Regions from separate parts of the Homo sapiens genome. Here regions 1 and 2 are each linked to region 3. The links are contacts of gene promoters, found by promoter capture Hi-C in blood cells and fetal thymus (Javierre and others, 2016). All regions are on one chromosome and are shown on one strand. The core of a region is centred on a gene start or on the middle of the fragment in contact, and the rest is flanking DNA. Distances in the headings are between cores, read along the strand shown. Region 1 has its middle 6.4 kb from the start of UBE2E3. Region 2 overlaps UBE2E3 (ubiquitin conjugating enzyme E2 E3). Region 3 holds the start of DNAJC10 (DnaJ heat shock protein family (Hsp40) member C10).

The links. The method cuts DNA at HindIII sites, captures the fragments that hold promoters and counts their contacts. A CHiCAGO score of 5 or more calls a contact.
Region 1: a contact is called between a fragment that was not itself captured here and the fragment with the promoter of DNAJC10 in region 3, in 1 of 17 cell types (fetal thymus). The highest score is 5.3, in fetal thymus.
Region 2: a fragment that was not itself captured here is called in contact with the fragment with the promoter of DNAJC10 in region 3 in 2 of 17 cell types (activated CD4 T cells and naive B cells); the score reaches 7.0 in activated CD4 T cells.

What each region holds. Positions count from the first base shown.
Region 1 is chr2:180,972,882-180,975,581 of GRCh38, forward strand. No RefSeq gene overlaps it. Among named protein-coding and RNA genes, the nearest start is that of UBE2E3, 6.4 kb to the right of the region's middle. The HindIII fragment of the contact is 9,383 bases long and covers 1-2,700 here.
Region 2 is chr2:180,991,911-180,994,610 of GRCh38, forward strand. All of the region lies in intron 3 of UBE2E3 (ubiquitin conjugating enzyme E2 E3), which reads left to right. Among named protein-coding and RNA genes, the nearest start is that of UBE2E3-DT, 12 kb to the left of the region's middle. The HindIII fragment of the contact is 173 bases long and covers 1,225-1,397 here.
Region 3 is chr2:182,714,942-182,717,641 of GRCh38, forward strand. It overlaps DNAJC10 (DnaJ heat shock protein family (Hsp40) member C10), which reads left to right and starts at 1,316. Exons shown (of 24, transcript NM_018981.4): 1 at 1,316-1,542; 2 at 2,075-2,131. It also overlaps a transcript of PDE1A not described here. RefSeq lists enhancers at 799-948, 969-1,038, 1,383-1,987 and a silencer at 1,549-1,708. The HindIII fragment of the contact is 1,821 bases long and covers 49-1,869 here.

The DNA.
Region 1 (2,700 bases), core at 124-2,623, 1.7 Mb before region 3:
AATCATAGGGATTCCAGAATTGGAAAGGACTTTCAGACTCTTCATTTTACTGATAAAGAAACTGGCATCTAGAAGGCTGAAGCATTTTAACTAGGACTTAAACTTAAGATGCTGGGTTTCTGGGTCAATGACCACGATGTTTTGATAAAGTAGTAGAGAAAGTTGGACCAAATGTATAACAGTTTTATTTTCCATCAGTTCTTTTAAATTGCTCTGCCAATGAGTCTGAGATTGATTGAGGTGATTGATTTTAATCTTAACTGCCAGACTTTAGCTTTATAGAACACAGAACTTGATCTCTTCTACGCAGACATTTTATTAAGCAGGTTAGAAAAACTGTGCTGCTCTGCTACACTTTTAGAAAATAGCGTAAGTCTACAGTCCAGTACTCATTCTCTGATCATGATCTTATTAGAAATTGGGTGAGAAAATGTGGTCATTGTTCTCCCTGACATTTATCTCAGAGGTTAGAGTCATATACCAAACATCTTTAATTTATTTCACTGTATGAAACTACTGTCCTTTAATTTCTCTAAATACCTTTCAATTCCTGTATGCTTGGCCTATGCTGTCTTTAATGAAACTGGCTCCATAAATATATTAGGCAGTGTGAAAAGATAATTTTTCTTGTTGTTATTATTCCATAACATTTCCTTCAGTTGGCTCTCTCTGAGTGTGAATGAAGGTAACTTGGTCTCATTCAAGAATTATTTTACTAAATATTATATGCCACGTATGCCAATATACTGTCTTAGGCACAAAAAATGGATATGGGACCTTCCCTCCTTCTAGTAGGGGGAGAAAAATATTGCAGAAATAATCACACAAATAAATATTTACTTATAAATTGTGATAAGTCTTATCAAGAATATATAGGATGATTATATAGAGAATGATTATTACAGGATTACTGAACTTATACTACCATATTAGAGAAGGTCTCTTTCATGTTTATGAACAAAGATGCAAAAAGACTGTTAAAGTTATAATAACTTTCTGATGACAGTCTTTTGACAATCTCTACAGGAGCTGGTGACTTGGGAGACTGGACTCTGTGCCCTGGTAGATAGGACAGCATAGCAGAATGGGCATAGAATTCCAAAGTGCTTTGCACAGTTCTGTCAAGAGCTACCTTTAAGACTTTAGGAAAGTGATTTATTGTCTCTAATCCTTAATTTCATCGGTAGAAAAAGTCTAGTACCTCAACATCCTTTTCTGGATTATTAGTACTGATACTAAGTGGTCATTCCTTTATGAATCTAAGTTGGAGATGTTCCTTACCTCTACCACACAGAACATATATTCTTTTTGAAAATTCTGTATCACTGTTTTTTTAACTCATTCACATTACTCTGGGATATTTACTTTGTCTGAGTTATTTTGGGATATTATAATCCAGAGAAGTTAAAATCATATACACTTTGATATTTTACTAGGCATAAAAGATTTTTGAGATCTTTATAAATTATAATGAGCCTTTAAAATGGACCTGAATAAAACTAAAAGTCTTACTCTTGAAACAGAAACATTCTGTAAAAATATTTTGTTTTACTACTTTAGTTATATAGATGTTCAACTGGCACATAAGCCTGATTATCATATCAAATTAAACTACTTTATTTGCAGCCCCAAAAGAAAGCACACTACTCCTTATTGAGTCTTTTCTAATTAGATAACCATTTATGCAGTATGGAAGAGGTAGCCAGAATCACAAGCAATCAGGCTACTTATTCCAAAATAATTGTTTGCATATTTCTTCCAAATCTCTATTATACATTTTTCATCCATCATGGATACAACTTTGTTTTCTGAAGCAGAAAGGATACATTTAACCTGATTTTACAGAAGATGCTATAAGACATCTCAGAAAAATTTAAGTGACAATGTTAAGTAAAAATATAAGTTAAAAAATGATGTATGACACTTTTGTTAGTCTTTTTAACTAAGCAGGACATGAGCTGATTTCATAGAAAAGGATTTTCTGACAAGGAGGAATTGATAAACTGTTAGGTATAATACTCACCATTTTATATTCATGTATCATATTCTATCGAGTGAATGAACCATAATTTACCAAGCATAGTCCTTATGTTGGACAGTTTGAGTGGTTTCCATTTTTATATAGTATAAATTATACTGGGATAAACACTGTCAGGCATATAGCATTTAAAAAATATTTTGGATTATTTCCTTAGGATAGATTCCCAGAAGTAGAATTACTAGGTTAAAAGAGTATGAACATTTTTATGATTCTTGTAACACATTGCCAAATTGCTTCCCAAAAAGGTTATATCAATTTACAATGCCATCAGCAATATAGGAAAGTGCCCTTCTCATAATACTCCTCCAGGTATTTGGCATTACGGTTTTTAGATTTGCAAATTTTGAGGGCAAGAATGTTGCACCTCATTTTAATATATATTTCTTACATTTTTAAAGGCAAAGATAAATATTTTTACATGCAGCTTAATAACTTCGAATTTCTAACATGTTCTTTAACTATTTTGATATTTTTATAAGCCTATTCAGAATTATATGTGATATATACTAATCATTATTCATAGTATTATACAAACCATTTTATCTAGCCTGTTGTTTCAACTTGCTACATGTACATGGTTCCTTTAGGAAGGCATATTGAGGCTTCAATTTTTGTATCTGGTCAAATGCGTTGTTTCCTGTAATTTTTTGTGTTGTTGT
Region 2 (2,700 bases), core at 61-2,560, 1.7 Mb before region 3:
CATTTAATATTTTTGGACTGTGGTTGACCTAGAGTAGCTGGAACTGTGGAAAGTGGAACTGCACAGATAGGTAGGGACTGCTCTGCTACTTCTGTTACGTGACCATGACTGAAATTACTTACTACTCATGATGAAAGGGTATTTTCATTTGCTTTGCTTTCTTTTTTACCTGTTTCCTAATAGCTGATTTTGGTTTCTCAGTTGTTGTTTTTGGTTTGTTGGGTTTTTTGTCTTGTAACTTGTATGCTTAAGAGTTCTTTTCTCTTAAGGTGAAACTATCAGTGTCTACTCGTTTTTAAGTTGTTCTTTGTTTACTGGGTTGTTTTTCCACTTTGCTTTCAAATACTCTTTTAATCATTCCATTCATTCTAGATACACAGTATTACACAGAAAGGAAGATAATCTTTAATTCTTAAACACAAGTATTAAGTAATACTTAATACTTTGGATGTATTTTGCCTTGCATTATTTAAGTGCAATTAGACTATAAAAGGAGATGTTAAATTTTTCTGGTTGTGTTGTGATTACAAACAAACCTAGAAGGCTCAGTGGCTCAATGTATAAAGATTTATTTCTCACTCATGTGAAGACCACTGTGGGTCCAGGGACTATCTTGGGCAGCTCTTCTCTGTGTTGACTTATATCTGTGTATCTTGTAGCTCTGACATTTGGAACATATGCCTCAAGCAATCCTCCCACCTCAGCCTTCCGAGTAGCTGGGACTACAGGCGCACCCCACCATGCCTGACTAACTTTTTTTTTCTTTTTGGAGACAGAGTCTCACTCTGTTACCCAGGCTAGAGTGAAATGGCGCAATGTCAGCTCACCGCAACCTCTGCCTCCCGGGTTCAAGCAATTCTCCTGCCTCAGCCTCCCGAGTAGCTGGGACTGTAGGCATGTGCCACCACACTCAACTAATTTTGTATTTTTTTTTTAGTAGAGACAGGGTTTCACCATGTTGATCAGGCTGGGATTTGCTTTTTCCAGTGAGTCTCTTTGGAAGAGTGGCTGCTCCACTTTACAAAACAGAACTAATGTTCTCAGGGCAACCTACCACATTTATATATTTCATTTTAAATTGATGACATTAATGAGTTTTATGAATCAAATATGTGCCTTGCATCTTGTCTAAATGCAGTAGTAAAGTTAAATTGTAAAGCCTTGGGATTTTTATCTCTGTTGACATTCTATCAGTTTTATAAGGGTGTATAGAGAAATAACAAAAGCTTGTTTATCACATCTGTTTTGGATGTGCCCGTCGGTAGGTGGTGATAAAGTAATACCAATAGTGAGGATCAGCTTAGGGTCATTCAATTTGTAAAAATCCCAGTTCCTTCTTTTTGGTCCTTGATGTATATAATACTTGTTTTAACTTTATGGTTATTCACAACAAATGAAGCTTTGAAAGGAACTGTGGTGTAGTCTGCCTTTTTTGGAAGCTTTTGGACTAGTTATGCCATTCCAAAGTTTTTTTGCTGCTTTAGTGTTCCAGAGCAAATATACTCTGTCATTCTGTTTAACTTCCAGCTTGTCTGGGGAAAAATAAAGACATCTCTAGTCCAAAATTGCTTTTGGGAGTATAGTTCCACATCTTTTGGTCTGAATGAAAGGCCTAGGGAAACATGAATTTTGTTACCTTTTTATTTTATTTTCCTTCACTTATAAATCATCATCATGATCCCCCTTTACATCCATGCGTCTCACTTTTTATAAACACTGTTTATTCCCTTTCTGAGGATGGTTATTTGTAGTTAGTTTTGCCATTTACAGTCTTATAGGTCCTTTACAAATGGATCATTTTCTCACATTAAATTCTAGTAGGTCAAGAATCCATTTATTCAGGGTCCCGAAGAGAATCGATCTCAGAAGATTGTGGCTACATATTTTTTATGGCTTCCTATTGCTTTCTGTAGTCTTCTTAATTTAAACAGTAGCAACAGCAAAATATAGAGGGTACCATAAGGCATTGGCTTTATGATTTATTCTTGCCTCATACTTGTTTCTTAGGGTATTGGTGTTATTTGTTAGATTTGTGATATATATGCTTGTACTAAATTTACCTGGTATCACAATGAGAAGAAACCTGGCATTTGAAGGCTTTGAACGCAAACTCAGAGACATGTAATTTATATGGAATTCAATGGCAGTTTTAACTAGTGTGCCTTTAATTTTTCTTCATTTTATGTTTACACCAGTGTCCTTGTAAAATTTTAAAAGACATTTTTCTCATCTTCCCAGGTGCTTACTATCCACATTTCCATTAGAAGATGCCAAATACTCATTTTCTTCTTTTGAAAACCCTAAAATAAGCACGTTGCAATTATCACTTTTCCCTTCTGCCGAGGTTTCTTAATTTTGGAGAACTTGAAACATATGCAAAAGTAAACAGGCTGGTATGATGAACCCCCATATATATAACCTTTATCCAGTTTCAGTAGTTACCTAATCATGGCTAATCTGGCTTCATCTATGCCTCCGTCCATTTCACCCTCCCATTATTACATTAAAAAAATCTCAGACATCATTTCATCTATATCTTAAAACATGCAAGTATTTCACTATGCACTTTCAAAAGATAAGACTCCTTTTAACCATTGTGACATCAGCATGCCTAAAAATTTTCAGTAGCTCCGTAATCAGTCATTGTTTAGGTTTACAAATGGGTGTTGTCCTTCCTTCCCCACAGTTATTTGAGTGAGG
Region 3 (2,700 bases), core at 66-2,565:
AATAGCTGCCAGGATGATCTAAAATACAATCTCAGTCTCTTTTTTAAAAGCTTCCTCATCACCTAAGAGATAGAAATCTATGTCTTCATCTTGGTATAAAAACCTGTCTGTGATCTGGTCCCTGCTTCATCTTCCAGTTTTCTGTTTGTTTTTCAATTTACTTTAAGATTTTGTTACAGTGTGTAACAAAATGGTTACACACTGTGTCATAATGCTTAACATCATAGTCTCTGAAGCCAGGTTGCTTAGATGTGAATCCTAGCTCTCAAATATTTGCCTCAGTTTCCTCAAATGGGAAATAGATATAGGAGCCACTATCTTGTAAGATTATTTGGAGGACTAAATGAGTTACTACATGTGTGCTTAGACCAGTTCCTGAGACATATTAACTACTATTACATCAGGCTGCTTCTAATGTTTGCCTTTGTTCATTCTACTTCCTCTTCTTTCCTACCAAGTATTAGCTTAGCCATAGATCCTGTGTAGTTTTCCAAGTTTTTAGAAGCTGACACTTGATTTACTCCCCGAAACTGTTACCAATCACAACTTATTTCATGTTAGGGTTGATGTTATAAGCAGGTATCCTCTAGGCTCGGTTTTCTCTTTTAAATATAGAAAATGTAGTAAATATAACCACTTCAATTGTTATATTGCTGTGGGACAAAATGCAGTTCCTGTACCATAGCAGTAGGAGATCAAGGTAAGAGAGAACAACGATAACTCCCCAGTTTCTAGCTTGTATGACTCAGAATCCAGAAAATATTGTAGAAGTCTCAAATGCTTGTTGATACACACGCTTACACAAAATTGTAAATGTTTTAATTTCCTTCAAGTTTCCTACTGCCTCTTCAGTCCGCTAGCCTGATACTGCAATCAGTGTCGCTTCAGGCAACTTCTCCTTTCTCCGCCAAATTTCGCCTTTCGGTCTCACCCACCCATCACCCAGACAAATCCTCCAAAGCTCCGTCTTCCCTTTAAAAGACTCTCAGGGAACTCAACCCCAAAACCCACCCTCTGGGTTTCCCCGTCACCCTGGCAACGGAAGCAGGAAGAGGCGGGCTTCGCCATCCACCCTCCCCGCCCGCGGCAGGCGCCGGCCGCATTGGTGAGGGGGCGCGGGCTGCTTGGCCAGGGCAGTTCCCTCAGCTCCGGGTTGGAGCCGGAGCCGGAGCCGGATCCCGCGCACACCGCCACGTCAACCTAAACCTACACCGCCCTCTCCACCCCACCGCCGCAGCGCCCGCTGGGCCCGCAGCGGGTCTCCCCAGGCAGCGTCCTCCACGCCTTTCCCACAATGCTCCGCGCCAGGCCCCGCCCCGGCTCGCCGTGGAGACCGGCGCGTGAGGAACCTACCGGTACCGGCCGCGCGCTGGTAGTCGCCGGTGTGGCTGCACCTCACCAATCCCGTGCGCCGCGGCTGGGCCGTCGGAGAGTGCGTGTGCTTCTCTCCTGCACGCGGTGCTTGGGCTCGGCCAGGCGGGGTCCGCCGCCAGGGTTTGAGGATGGGGGAGTAGCTACAGGAAGCGACCCCGCGATGGCAAGGTGGGCATGGGCCCGGGGCTAGGGCTTTGCTGGAGCCGGTGGTGGCCTGGGCCCTCCGGTCAGGGAGGGGCGGAATGGCTGAGCGCCTGAACCTCCCTTCCTGTGCGCTCTTAAGACCTGGATATTGTGTTCTCGCTCCCCACCTTCCTCCTCCCTGTTATTCACACCACCCTTCCTCTGCCCAGCGATTCCCTCTCAGTTACTTACACTTTCTCCCTAAGTCCGACCTGAGACTTCAGACACCAGCAACACTTAACAGCCCTGTTCCCCCGTGTCTTCATCTTTACCCCTCTCCCCTCTCCCACTCTGCAGTGATGGCAATGCGAAAGCTTGCGCCTTGCATTTACCTGGCGCTTCCACCTGCCCGGTAGCTCGGGCCACGGGCAGTTCGGCCACACCCACGCTGAGAACAACCCCTGGGCGAGAAACATCTTATCCCAAAGTGTTGATTGAGACTATGCCCTCTCTTTTTCTGATGGTTGTTTTCTTGTTTGGATACTTGTTAATCTCTACATCATTATATTTTTCAAAGGTATATTTTTGTGGAATGAAAAGGAAGTATTAGAAATGAGCTGAAGACCATTCACAGGTAAAGAGAAAAATTTTTAAATATACATTTAGGATTAAATGAAAAACAGAAATGAGGTGCGAGGAGCGTTAGATTTTTCAAAGCATTACGATCTCTTTGGAACTAAAATATAGTGGTTGAAATGTGATATGATGAAGTAATGATTGTTTTTGCCCTGCAGAGAGTATGTCTAAATAACCGATTCCCTTCTCTTTTTGTGTTTTGTTTCTACTTACACCAAACATGAACTTTGCAATAAAATTACACTGGTAACTTACAATTGTTTTTCTACTATTTTTAAAAAATGGCCTCTACTTAAATTCAGTATAAGCACCTTCTGAGGAAACTCCGGGAAGAAGATCGACTGCTGTGTAGATTGTCTATTATAACAATATATTTCACTGTCATTTCTGGTAGGGTTATATGAGAAGTAAAAAACCCTATGTTTCCTTCTAGTCCCTCCCAAGGACATTTCCTACAAGTGAATTCTGCTGAAAATGAAAATTAGACAGCTTTAGGAGGTAAAGAAGTAGCTAAAAGGAAGAGGTATTACAGGCAACGCTATAACTGGGTAGAAAGAGGAAGCACCT